4 separate regions of the Homo sapiens genome follow, and regions 1, 2 and 4 are each linked to region 3. Evidence: promoter capture Hi-C in 16 types of primary human blood cells and fetal thymus (Javierre and others, 2016). All regions are on one chromosome and are shown on one strand. The core of a region is centred on a gene start or on the middle of the fragment in contact, and the rest is flanking DNA. Distances in the headings are between cores, read along the strand shown. Region 1 overlaps LHPP (phospholysine phosphohistidine inorganic pyrophosphate phosphatase). Region 2 overlaps LHPP (phospholysine phosphohistidine inorganic pyrophosphate phosphatase). Region 3 holds the start of ZRANB1 (zinc finger RANBP2-type containing 1). Region 4 overlaps LHPP (phospholysine phosphohistidine inorganic pyrophosphate phosphatase).

Evidence for each region. Contacts are between HindIII fragments. The CHiCAGO score rates a contact against its expected background, and 5 or more counts as called.
Region 1: a contact is called between a fragment that was not itself captured here and the fragment with the promoter of ZRANB1 in region 3, in 8 of 17 cell types (M1 macrophages, erythroblasts, M0 macrophages and 5 more). The highest score is 8.9, in M1 macrophages.
Region 2: a fragment that was not itself captured here is called in contact with the fragment with the promoter of ZRANB1 in region 3 in 3 of 17 cell types (fetal thymus, total CD8 T cells and activated CD4 T cells); the score reaches 5.9 in fetal thymus.
Region 4: a fragment that was not itself captured here is called in contact with the fragment with the promoter of ZRANB1 in region 3 in 1 of 17 cell types (total CD8 T cells); the score reaches 7.4 in total CD8 T cells.

The regions. Positions count from the first base shown.
Region 1 is chr10:124,525,543-124,528,242 of GRCh38, forward strand. The region is part of intron 6 of LHPP (phospholysine phosphohistidine inorganic pyrophosphate phosphatase); the gene reads left to right. Among named protein-coding and RNA genes, the nearest start is that of LHPP, 65 kb to the left of the region's middle. RefSeq lists an enhancer at 2,644-2,700. The HindIII fragment of the contact is 9,266 bases long and covers 1-2,700 here.
Region 2 is chr10:124,487,354-124,490,053 of GRCh38, forward strand. LHPP (phospholysine phosphohistidine inorganic pyrophosphate phosphatase) reads left to right here. Exons shown (of 7, transcript NM_022126.4): 3 at 1,069-1,222. Among named protein-coding and RNA genes, the nearest start is that of LHPP, 27 kb to the left of the region's middle. The HindIII fragment of the contact is 309 bases long and covers 1,140-1,448 here.
Region 3 is chr10:124,940,733-124,943,432 of GRCh38, forward strand. It overlaps ZRANB1 (zinc finger RANBP2-type containing 1), which reads left to right and starts at 1,391. Exons shown (of 9, transcript NM_017580.3): 1 at 1,391-2,575. The coding sequence starts at 1,762. The HindIII fragment of the contact is 2,790 bases long and covers 349-2,700 here.
Region 4 is chr10:124,504,368-124,507,067 of GRCh38, forward strand. The region is part of intron 5 of LHPP (phospholysine phosphohistidine inorganic pyrophosphate phosphatase); the gene reads left to right. Among named protein-coding and RNA genes, the nearest start is that of LHPP, 44 kb to the left of the region's middle. The HindIII fragment of the contact is 213 bases long and covers 1,314-1,526 here.

The DNA.
Region 1 (2,700 bases), core at 28-2,527, 420 kb before region 3:
CGGACGCTGGGCCTCCTGAGAGAGTGGGGAGGAGACCCGAGGCGGAGGCGAGTGTGTGAAAGGAGGCTGGTGGGGTCCACATGGCTCAGCAGGTGAACATGGGGTTTCCAGGGGCAGACACCCCATCGTGGCCCCCATGGCTTTGGTTGGGGCAGCATCAGCTTCCTCCTCTGCTGGGTTTCCTGCCTTCTGTTGGCTGCTGGGGCAGGGGAGACAGGATTGGGAACAGTCACCCTCTCTGGTACTGACCCTCATTAGCATTCTTGGTTCCTGAGCAAGGCTGCTTCATGTCCAGGGCAAGAGGGGAAAGATGTTAAAACCTGAACCCCCCTGCTGGGCTTGGTGCCGCCTGTGGGAAAACCGGTGGGCTGAGGGCTGGGGGGCTCTGAGCTGAGGAAGGGGGTCCCAGGTGGAGGCCGGGAGGTGGCTGCAGAGTGAGGCCACAAGGCCTGGGGGTTGGCCCAGAAGGTAGGACCCCTGTAGGCAGCCTCCCAACCCCAGGAATTTGCCTCTTGGGAACGTGCAGGTCCCTCGAGGGTCCTGGAAGGCGCTGGAGTGGTGGGACAGGGATTGAGGGAGCGTCAGCAGGGCCCTCTCTTCTCCCTAGAGCCGCTCAACACGTGTTGCAAGGCACGTGCTCTGGACCTGGTGCTCACACGTGCTCTTCTCCCAAGACACTCCCTGAAGCGCGTTCCCCAGGAGCTGGAAGGGGGATAACGCAGGTATGCCTCATGGCGGGGCCAGTGCTCATGCTTACACACACTCAGCCTCAGCTCGTCTACACCCTGCAACAGCCCAGAGAAGCCACCCGCCTTCTTACCCCTACCATTTAGATTTGCAAATGGAAGCTCAGAGAGGTGAAGTAACTTGCCCAAGGCCACACAGCCTACCAGTGTCAGAATCGGGATTCGAACCCACCTCTGCCTGACTCCAAGGCCTGTGCCCCTGAACATTCTCAAGCCACCCCCCAATTAGCCAAGTGTTGCTGGAGCTCTGAGCAGGGGCCGGGCCTCACAAAACAATAGTAGCCAGTGTGGGGGCTCACAGGACTGGTCAGCTCCCGCCCTCCCCCGCTTTGGCCCCCTCCACACACACACGACCTGCTGCTGAGCTGGACATAAGCAGGACCTGGCTCTGGGGGCTTCTGACCTAGGGCAGGCCCTGAAGTTGGTCATTAGACCCCACCCACCCACCTGAGAGCCTGGCGGAGATGTGACAGGTGACAGCCCCAGAAGTCCCATCGTTGCTGCCTTTGTGGTTAAAGTCCGCTGAACCCAAGCGCTCTCTTCCCCTCCAGTGTGTGGTGGGGAGGTGGGGAGGGGACCCAGGCAGATCTGGGAAGCCGTGGCCAGGCCGCAGCAAGCAGGGGAAGAAGGGGCCCGCAGTGAACTTGCAGCAGGAGCTGTGGCCACCGTCCTAGCCAGGCCGGCCACCTGCCCAAAATGTTCTCTAACCTTAACATGAACCTGGGCCACTTGGGCTCTGCTGGATGCCCCCAGGGCTGCCAGAGCCTGCCCGCCACAGAGCCCCTCTGAGACCTGGAGTCTCACCTGAGCCCTCTCGCTGCCCACAGGGCTGGCCTCTGCCTTTCCGCTGCTGCTCTGCGGCTCGGGGACACGGCCAGGGCTGGTGGCGCTTACAGCCCAGGGGCAGGGGAGGGCACATCCCCCACAGCATTCACCATTGCTGCTGTGTTCTGATGCATCAGGGAATCTGCATTTTTGACCCTTTGATTGCTACATCTTTTCCAGCCTGGAAAAGTGAAGAAGGAAGGAAAGGGGGCTCAGAGGCCCCTGACTCCTGTCCTTGCAGGCACAGCTGGACGCAGTTCTTATTTTCAACCATCTTGCAGCAGTGGTTTTATTTGTGCACAGGTTCCTCTGTGTCATGGGTGGGTCCCAGGATGTGAACCCGGTGTGCTCCTCTAGCTCCACTGTCCTCAGGTTGGGGACAGCCAGGGACAAGGCCCCCTACTCCAGCTCCAAACGTAGTTCCAGGCTGGGGTGCCCTTTGCCCAGGCCCAGCCTGGTAGCCCCGGGTGCTCTCCCTGACTTTTCATGAGCCCGGGGGCTGAAACCAGAGCAGCAGGGAGACAGAAAAGCCCAGCCCCACCCTCCAGAGGGGGAGTCCAGCTGCCCGGAGACCCCAAGAGCACTGCCAGAATCTGGGTATGAGACCCAGTCCCCTGCCGCGTGCTAACCATGTAACCTTGGACGTGATCTCTTTGTGCTTTTTTTTTTTTGTTTTTTTCTTTTTGAGATGCGGTCTTGTTCTGTTTCCTAGGTGGGAGTGCAGTGGCACCATCATGGCCCACTGCAGCCTGGAACTCCTGGGCACAAGTGATTCTCCCGCCTCAGCCTCCCAAATAGCTGGGAAACAGGTTTATGCCACCACGCCCAACTAATTTTTAAATTTTTTATAAAGATGGAGTCTCCCTGTGTTGCCCAGCCTCCTGGGCTCAAGTGATCTCCCCGCCTTGGCCTCCCAAAGTGCTGGGATTACCCGGCTTGAGCATGATCTTTTTGCCTTGCTTGGCTCTGGGTTTCCTCATGTGTCAAGTGGGGCTGAGCCCCAGCTGTGTGGGCTGAACAGGGGAGGGTTAAGCTCGGCCCCTAGAGTGAGGGCCCGCCATGGTGGTGGCTCCCGTATGGCATATTTCCCTAACGGTTCCCATTTGGTCTGTCCTGCTAGACCAGGCTG
Region 2 (2,700 bases), core at 44-2,543, 450 kb before region 3:
CAGACCTTGGTGTTATCAGTCTTTTTAATTCTCACCATTCTGGTGGGTATGAAATCGTATCTCATTGTGTATTTCAGTTTCTTTCTTTCTTTTTTTTTTTTTTTTTTGAGACAGAGTCTCGCTCTGTTGCCCAGGCTGGAATACAGTGGTGCAATCTCAGCCCACTGCAACCTCTGCCTCTCGGGTTCAAGTGATTCTACTGCCTCAGACTCCTGAGTAGCTGAGATTACAGGCGGCCGCCACCGTGCCGGGCTGATTGTTGTATTTTTAGTAGAGATGGGATTTTGACCATGTTGGCCAGGCTGGTCTCGAACTCCTGAACTCAGGCGATCCGCCCACCTTGACCTCCCAAAGTGCTGGGATTACAGGCATGAGCCACCGCACCTGGCCTCAGTTTCTTTTCAATTTAGAAAGGTCAACATCTAGTCCTAAGAGAGATGACAGCATGTTTCTTCTAGGATCTGAAAACACAGATCCAATGATTTGATGTATCCTTGCAAATTTTCCTATTTTAATTTAAAATGGGGGAAGACAAAGAAGGAGAAGGAGGAAGAGAGTTTCCTAAGGGAGCTGGTGAACTGGACCTGTGGGGATGGAATTCTGCTTTTTCTTCAGGACATATGTGTGGGGTTGCCTGAAATGTGTCAACGGTTCTTACAGTTTGGGACCAGTAGTGCCAACCCTCCAAGGCTTGTGCAGCCCCATTTCCTCCTGCTGCAGGCTCTCAGTGTCTTCTGAGCAGATTTCCCTTCTCAGTAGCAAAGCTGTGGGTTTCCTGCCTGCGATAGTGACCTCAGGGAGCTCCTGGGGCTGATGTGGTATTGGGATGGAGGGTCCTGGGTGTGTCCACCTTTCTCCTCATAAGCCCTCTCTGAGGAGCCGAATTCCCTCCTCTGTCAAATAGGAATAACCCTTCTGTGTCTACCTCCCATGGCAGCTGTGATGATCAGAAAGAAATGCATCTGAGAAAGGGGGAGGACATGTGAAAGGTGTCCCTGGTAGGAGATGGGGAGGTAGGCCATGTCCTCCCAGGGCTCCGTGGCACTCTGTCTCTCTCTCTCTTTCCAGGAGTCCGCTCAGAATTTGATCAGATCGACACATCCAACCCAAACTGTGTGGTAATTGCAGACGCAGGAGAAAGCTTTTCTTATCAAAACATGAATAACGCCTTCCAGGTGCTCATGGAGCTGGAAAAACCTGTGCTCATATCACTGGGAAAAGGGTAAGTTGGCTCCAGGGAGAGTCATTTCTCGGTGCTTTAGATGATGCTGTGCCAGTCTCCAACTTGCGGAATCAGGCAGAGAAGGATGCAGAAGGGGAGGTGGGAGGAGCACCGGTGATCTTCTTTTCCCTCCCTTTTTCATGCTTTCTCTCTTCATTTCTTTATTCCTCTCCTTTAATCATTTCTTTAGGAAATAGGAACACTGTCTTCAGGAGCTGGTTGATCAAGCTTCCATGTGGAGTCTAGACTAGAAGAGGGCGTCATTGCAGAGGGAGACCCTCTGGAGATCTCAGAGGCCAAGTGTTGATTGTCCCAAGTTTAGAGCAAAGAAGGAGAAGGTGCATTTGCATAGGATGTAGCAGGGTGTTGGAGAATGCTCTCAAGGGTTGTCTAATTAGTAAAACATAGGCTTGAGGGCCTACCCAGTCTGGGCACCGACAGTCTCTGGCCACAGATCACTGTCTCTGTGAAGTTGTGATTTTGTGATCAGTGTTTTGTCTGAGCCTTTAGCACATGCCTTGCCATCTCTTTCTTAAACAAAACAGTGTTGGTTATTTTTAACATTTTTCTTACACTGAGATAGCACATGTTCATTGAAGAAAAATTAGACAATACAGATGAGCAAAAGAAGAAACCAGAAAGTATTTTTAGTCCCACTGCACGAGGAAAACACCTGTCCCTATTTTGGTGTATGTCCTTGCAAGTGGCTTCCTGTGCGAATAGACTATTATGGATGGAGATGTTCACAGCATCGATGTCACACTTGACCTTGTTTTGTCATCTGTTTTTTATTGTTCACCAAACAATATTTGTGACTGACTTAGCATGCAGCAAATGGATATGTCTTGGGGCATGGTTATCTATGGTGTGGCTATCTTGTATATATATATATTTTTTAAGACTGAGTCTCGCTCTGTCACCCAGGCTGGAGTGCAGCGGCGTGATCTCGGCTCGCTGCAACCTCTCCCTCCCGGGTTCAAGCGATTCTCCTGCCTCAGCCTCCTGAGTAGCTGGGACTACAGGCGCCCGCCACCATCCCAGCTAATTTTTATATTTTTGGTAGAGGCGGGGTTTCACCATGTTGGCCAGGATGGTCTCAATCTCCTGACCTTGTGATCCGCCCGCCTTGGCCTCCCAAAGTGCTGGGATTACAGGCATGAGCCACCGCCCCCAACCTCTTGTAATTTTTTTCTTTTTTTTTTTTTCTGCTTATAAGTTTATTCAATGCAAAATAACCCTCACCAGTTTTACTGAGGTGGCTGACCATGTCCACGACCAAATACGCCTGTAAACTGAAATTCGGTTGCTGACCCATTCCCAGCCTCAGCTTTCTCACTGGCACCAGGGGGACAGCACTCCATCTGTGGGTGTCTCTTTCTCTCTATGGCTGTCTGTCTGTGGGTGTCTCTCTCTGTCTGTGGGTGTCTTTCGCCATCTGTGGGTATCTCTCTCTGTCTGTGGGTATCTCTCCCATCTGT
Region 3 (2,700 bases), core at 141-2,640:
TGGGAGGTCGAGGTGGGTGGATCACGAGGTCAGGAGTTCATCAAGAGAAGCCCGGCCAAGATGCTGAAACCCTATCTCTACTAAAAATACAAAAATTAGCCGGGCATGGTGGCATGCACCTGTAATCTCGGCTACTTGGGAGGCTGAGGCAGGAGAATCGCTTGAACCTGGGAGGTGGAGGTTGCAGTGAGCTTAGATTGCACCACTCCACTGCATTCCAGCCTGGGCAAAACATAGCAAGACTCCATCTCAAAAAAACAAAAATGAAAACAACAACAACAAAAAAACAAACAAACAAAAGATTTAACCCTCTAGGTTCAGGAAAAATCCCTGAGAAAGAGAGAGCAAAGCTTCTATACTCTGCCTAGGATTTCTTTCTCTTTCCGGGTGAAAAATAGGTGTTGGGATGATACTGAGTTGATAAAAGTATTTAGGAAAAGTGGCCAGTGTCTAAATTCAAGCCATTAAAAAAAAAAAAATTAAATTTGTTATGTAAGTTGCTTCATTTATGAATTAGTTGCCATTAAATTATGAAGTCTTTCTTCATTATAGTGTAGTGTTAGCCCATTGTTGAATCCTAGAAATCTTTTAAGTAGTGTGAATATCTTTTAAATATGAATTGGATTTTTTGGGGGGCAGGGGATGGAGTCTCACTCTGTCACCCAGGCTAGAGTGCAGTGGTGCGATCTTAGCTCACTGCAACCTCTGCCTGCCGGGTTCAAGCAGTTCTCTGCCTCAGCCTCCTGAGTAGCTGGGATTACAGGCACCTACCACCATGCACGGCTAATTTTTGTATTTTTATAGAGACGGGGCTTTACCATCTTGGCCAGGCTGGTCTTGAACTCCTGACCTTGTGATCTACCCGCCTCAGCCTCCCAAAATGCTGGGATTATAGGCTTGAGCTACTGCCCCCGGCCATGAATTAGATTTTGAGTATATTTTAAATATTCAAAATTTAAAATATTTTAATTATGAACATTCACAATTATATTGGAATGATTATGCTACTGGTTATTTCAGTGACCTTCCACAGATTTAATTTTCCCCAGTACAGTCTTCTTTTTTTTACTCCAGATAGAACTAGATTTTGAGGCTACAGATTATCAAGGAACTACCTATTTCATAATGTTACTTTGTTAATTGTAGCCATTACTTCTCAACATGTTTCTTTACTACCTGTGCTAATTAAGAACAGTGGATAATTAGCATTTTAAGTTGCTTTTCTCCCTTAGCGAGAATGATAAAATAGACGTTGCTTGATCTTCTGAATTCATGAATCATAATCTGTGTTCATAATTTGAGAATGGTTATGTGTTTAAGCTATTTTTTAGTTTGTGTTGTTTCCTCTACCTTTGTCTCTTTAAACTATTGGTTACTTTTCTAAATTGATGTGATGGCCTCCCTGAAATTAAACATTTCTATTAGTGGCTTCCCGTTAATCTCATCCTTCTTAGATCAAACCTCGTTATATCTCCTGCCTATCTCTTTTGCATTCCAAAGTTCAGTTTTATTAAATCCCAGGGTCTAAGATTTTTTCTTTGAGAATTTATCTCCAGTGTTTCTATGGAAATTAAAAAAGAAAATTAGGATAATTCAATGTCGAAATGTTGCATGCATCTTTTGAGAAATTTATATTTTGTAGGTTGAAGGACTTGCTTTTTGGGCAGCGTATTTTTGGAGGTGGAATGTAGTTATTTTAATAACCATGTCCTAATTATTTATAGCTTCCTGCCTGACACAGCTCACTTCAAGAAGTGCACAATGTCAGAACGTGGAATTAAGTGGGCTTGTGAATATTGTACGTATGAAAACTGGCCATCTGCAATCAAGTGTACTATGTGTCGTGCCCAAAGACCTAGTGGAACAATTATTACAGAAGATCCATTTAAAAGTGGTTCAAGTGATGTTGGTAGAGATTGGGATCCTTCCAGCACCGAAGGAGGAAGTAGTCCTTTGATATGTCCAGACTCTAGTGCAAGACCAAGGGTGAAATCTTCGTATAGCATGGAAAATGCAAATAAGTGGTCATGCCACATGTGTACATATTTGAACTGGCCAAGAGCAATCAGATGTACCCAGTGCTTATCCCAACGTAGGACCAGGAGTCCTACAGAATCTCCTCAGTCCTCAGGATCTGGCTCAAGACCAGTTGCTTTTTCTGTTGATCCTTGTGAGGAATACAATGATAGAAATAAACTGAACACTAGGACACAGCACTGGACTTGCTCTGTTTGCACATATGAAAACTGGGCCAAGGCTAAAAGATGTGTTGTTTGTGATCATCCCAGACCTAATAACATTGAAGCAATAGAATTGGCAGAGACTGAAGAGGCTTCTTCAATAATAAATGAGCAAGACAGAGCTCGATGGAGGGGAAGTTGCAGTAGTGGTAATAGCCAAAGGAGATCACCTCCTGCTACGAAGCGGGACTCTGAAGTGAAAATGGATTTTCAGAGGATTGAATTGGCTGGTGCTGTGGGAAGCAAGGAGGAACTTGAAGTAGACTTTAAAAAACTAAAGCAAATTAAAAACAGGATGAAAAAGACTGATTGGCTCTTCCTCAATGCTTGTGTGGGTAAGTTTCTGTATTCTGCATTTTTTGCGTGGGATGGGAAAAGGTAGTAAAAATGATATGAAAAGAGCTGGGTGCGCTGACACACGTTTGTGGTCTTAGCCACTTGCTTGAAACCAGGAGTTTGA
Region 4 (2,700 bases), core at 170-2,669, 440 kb before region 3:
GGTCATTAGAGCCCAAAAGTTTGAGACCAGCCTGGGCAACACGGAAAAACCCCGTCTCTACAGAAAAAATGCAAAAAAAAAAAAAAGGCAGATGTGGTTGCATGTGCCTATGGTTCCAGCTACTTGGGGGGCTGAGGTGGGCAGATTGCTTGGGCCCAGGAGGTTGAGGTTGCAGCAAGCTGAGATTGCACCACTGCACTCCAGCCTGGGCAACTGAGCGAGACCCTGTCTCAAAAAAAAAAAAATAGGAAAGCAAGAAGGAAGGAAGGAAAGAAGGAAGGAAGGAGGGAAGGGGAAGGGAAGAGAGGGGAGGAGACGAGACTGGCTGTCCAGATGGCATTGCTGGTGATATTTGGATGGTCTGACCTTGGGTGGTCTCCCTGCCTTTTTCTTGTGGCATTTTCAGTTATTTTCACAGTCAGCTTCCTTCACATTTCGAATGAGATACAGCCCACCTCACCGCCGAAAGAAGACCCCTCATGGGGGTCTGGTGAATCTGGGTTTGTCGTTTTCGGATGCTGGGGCAGTGCGTCTGGGAGGGAGCGGGGCTGTGGATTCCTGGTGGGTCACCGTGGCTGCTTGAGGCTTTGGTCCCTGCCGCTGCCATCCACCCTGAGCATCTGTGGCCCTGGAGAGCGAAAGACTTGTTTCCTCTGGTGGCTCCGAGCATATGTGGCAAAGCTGTGTCTTATTTACCTCCCACATCATCATCCTCTCCTACCCTCATATGACATTTCTGCCTGTCCCCTTGACAGTGGAGTAGCAGCTGCATGTTCCGAACGTCCCCACCCTGCCATTTTCCTAAAATGCTCACTAACGTTATTTGACTCTCAGGATGTGTAGACATTTTAAAGCTGTATTTCAAGATAAGGCCATTTCAAATGAACTGTGTCTTATGCACAGGGTAATAATTCTCTGTTCCTGGCTTTTTTATTTTTAATGAAAAATGCCTGCAAGGACCTCTCTTGCTGCTGAATGCCAGGCTGTGGCAAACCTTAAATTTTTCCAGCTGCTTTAATCAATAAAGTTATCACCAGTCATTTCCCTTGATCACTGCTGCTTCCCGAGACCCTGACCTGCTTCTTGCTGCTGAGTTTTCAGTCTGCACTCAGAATAGATATAACTCCCCAAATCCAATTTTCATTTTAACCTTTCCTCAGTGGCCTAGAAATCACAGATTGCTGGTATTATGCTAATAGATTGGAAATTCAAACCTCTTAGAGGCAACCTGGCCCTTTCTAGGATTCAGTAATAAGGCAAAGAATAACATACCTTAAAGGTTACTTCTAGAAATATCTAATTCTCACGGTTTAAGCTTCTGAATCAGTGGATGGTTTTATAGCTTCATATGAGCACCCAAGTGATGTGAAGGTTTTGGCAGTTCTCCATCATCATAAGAAGTTCTGTGGGATGCAAATCCTGCAGGTTTAGTGGAGATTGAGACTGTTCAAACCAGAGCACTTAGTTATATGTGACAGCCAAGAACCCTCGCCTGGAGGGGCCCGTTTCACAGGTGAGGAGCCTGAAGCTTAGAGATGAAACACCTTGTCATAGGCGCTTTGCATTCCCACCATGAGGTTAAGACAGGATTTCTCAGGCTGGGCGCAGTTGCTCACACCTGTAATCCCAGCACTTTGGGAGGCCGAGGTGGGTGGATCACGAGCCCAGGAGTTCGAGACCAGCCTGGGTAACATGGTGAAACCCTGTCTCTACAAAAAAATACAAAAATTAACTGGGCATGGTGGCTGGCACATGCCTGTGGTCCCAGCTGCTCAGGAAGCTGACGCACGAGATTCGCTTGAATCTGGGAGGCAGGGGTTGCAGTGAGCCAAGATGGTACCACTGTACTCTAGGCTGGACAAGAGAGTAAGACCTTGTCTCAAAAAAAACAACAAACCCCCCCCCCACCCCGCGGTTTCTCAACCTCGACACTTGGTGTTTTTGGACTGGGTCATTTTGTGGTGAGGGGATGTCCTATGCATTGTAGGGTGCTAAACAGCATCCCACTGTCCGCCCACTACATGGGACCACCCCCTTCCCAAGCTGTGAAACCAAAATTGTCTGTAGACATTGCCAGATGTGCCCTGGGGAGAACCGCAGCATTAAGCGGTATTAAGAGAACGGTTACGGAGAACTCTAGTACTGAACCCAAGATTACTTTGCCAATGAGGAGTGAAGCCAGGCACCAAACCATCGTCTTCCAGCCCCGTCCAGTGCTCTTTGCCATAGCCCAACTCTCAGGGAGGACCAGCGGTGCAGCAGAATTTCTTAGGGAGGTGGGGAGGGTAGGGAGGATTTCAGGTTGGGGGGTAGGGAAGATTTCAGGTTGGCGGGTAGGGAAGATTTCAAGTGGGGTGGGTAAGGAGGATTTCAGGTTGGGGGGTAGGGAAGATTTCAAGTGGGGTGGGTAAGGAGGATTTCAGGTTGGGGGGGGTAGGGAGGATTTCAGGTGGGGGGGTAGGGAGGATTTCAGGTAGGGGGTAGGGAGGATTTCAGGTGGAGAGGTAGACAGGATTTCAGGTTGGGGGGTAGGGAGGATTTCAGGTTGGGGGGTAGACAGGATTTCAGGTGGGGGGGTAGGGAGGATTTCAGGTGGGCGGGTAGACAGGATTTCAGGTGAGGGGGGTAGGGAGGATTTCAGGTCGGGGGGTAGACAGGATTTCAGGTGAGGGGGGTAGGGAGGATTTCAGGTGTAGGGGT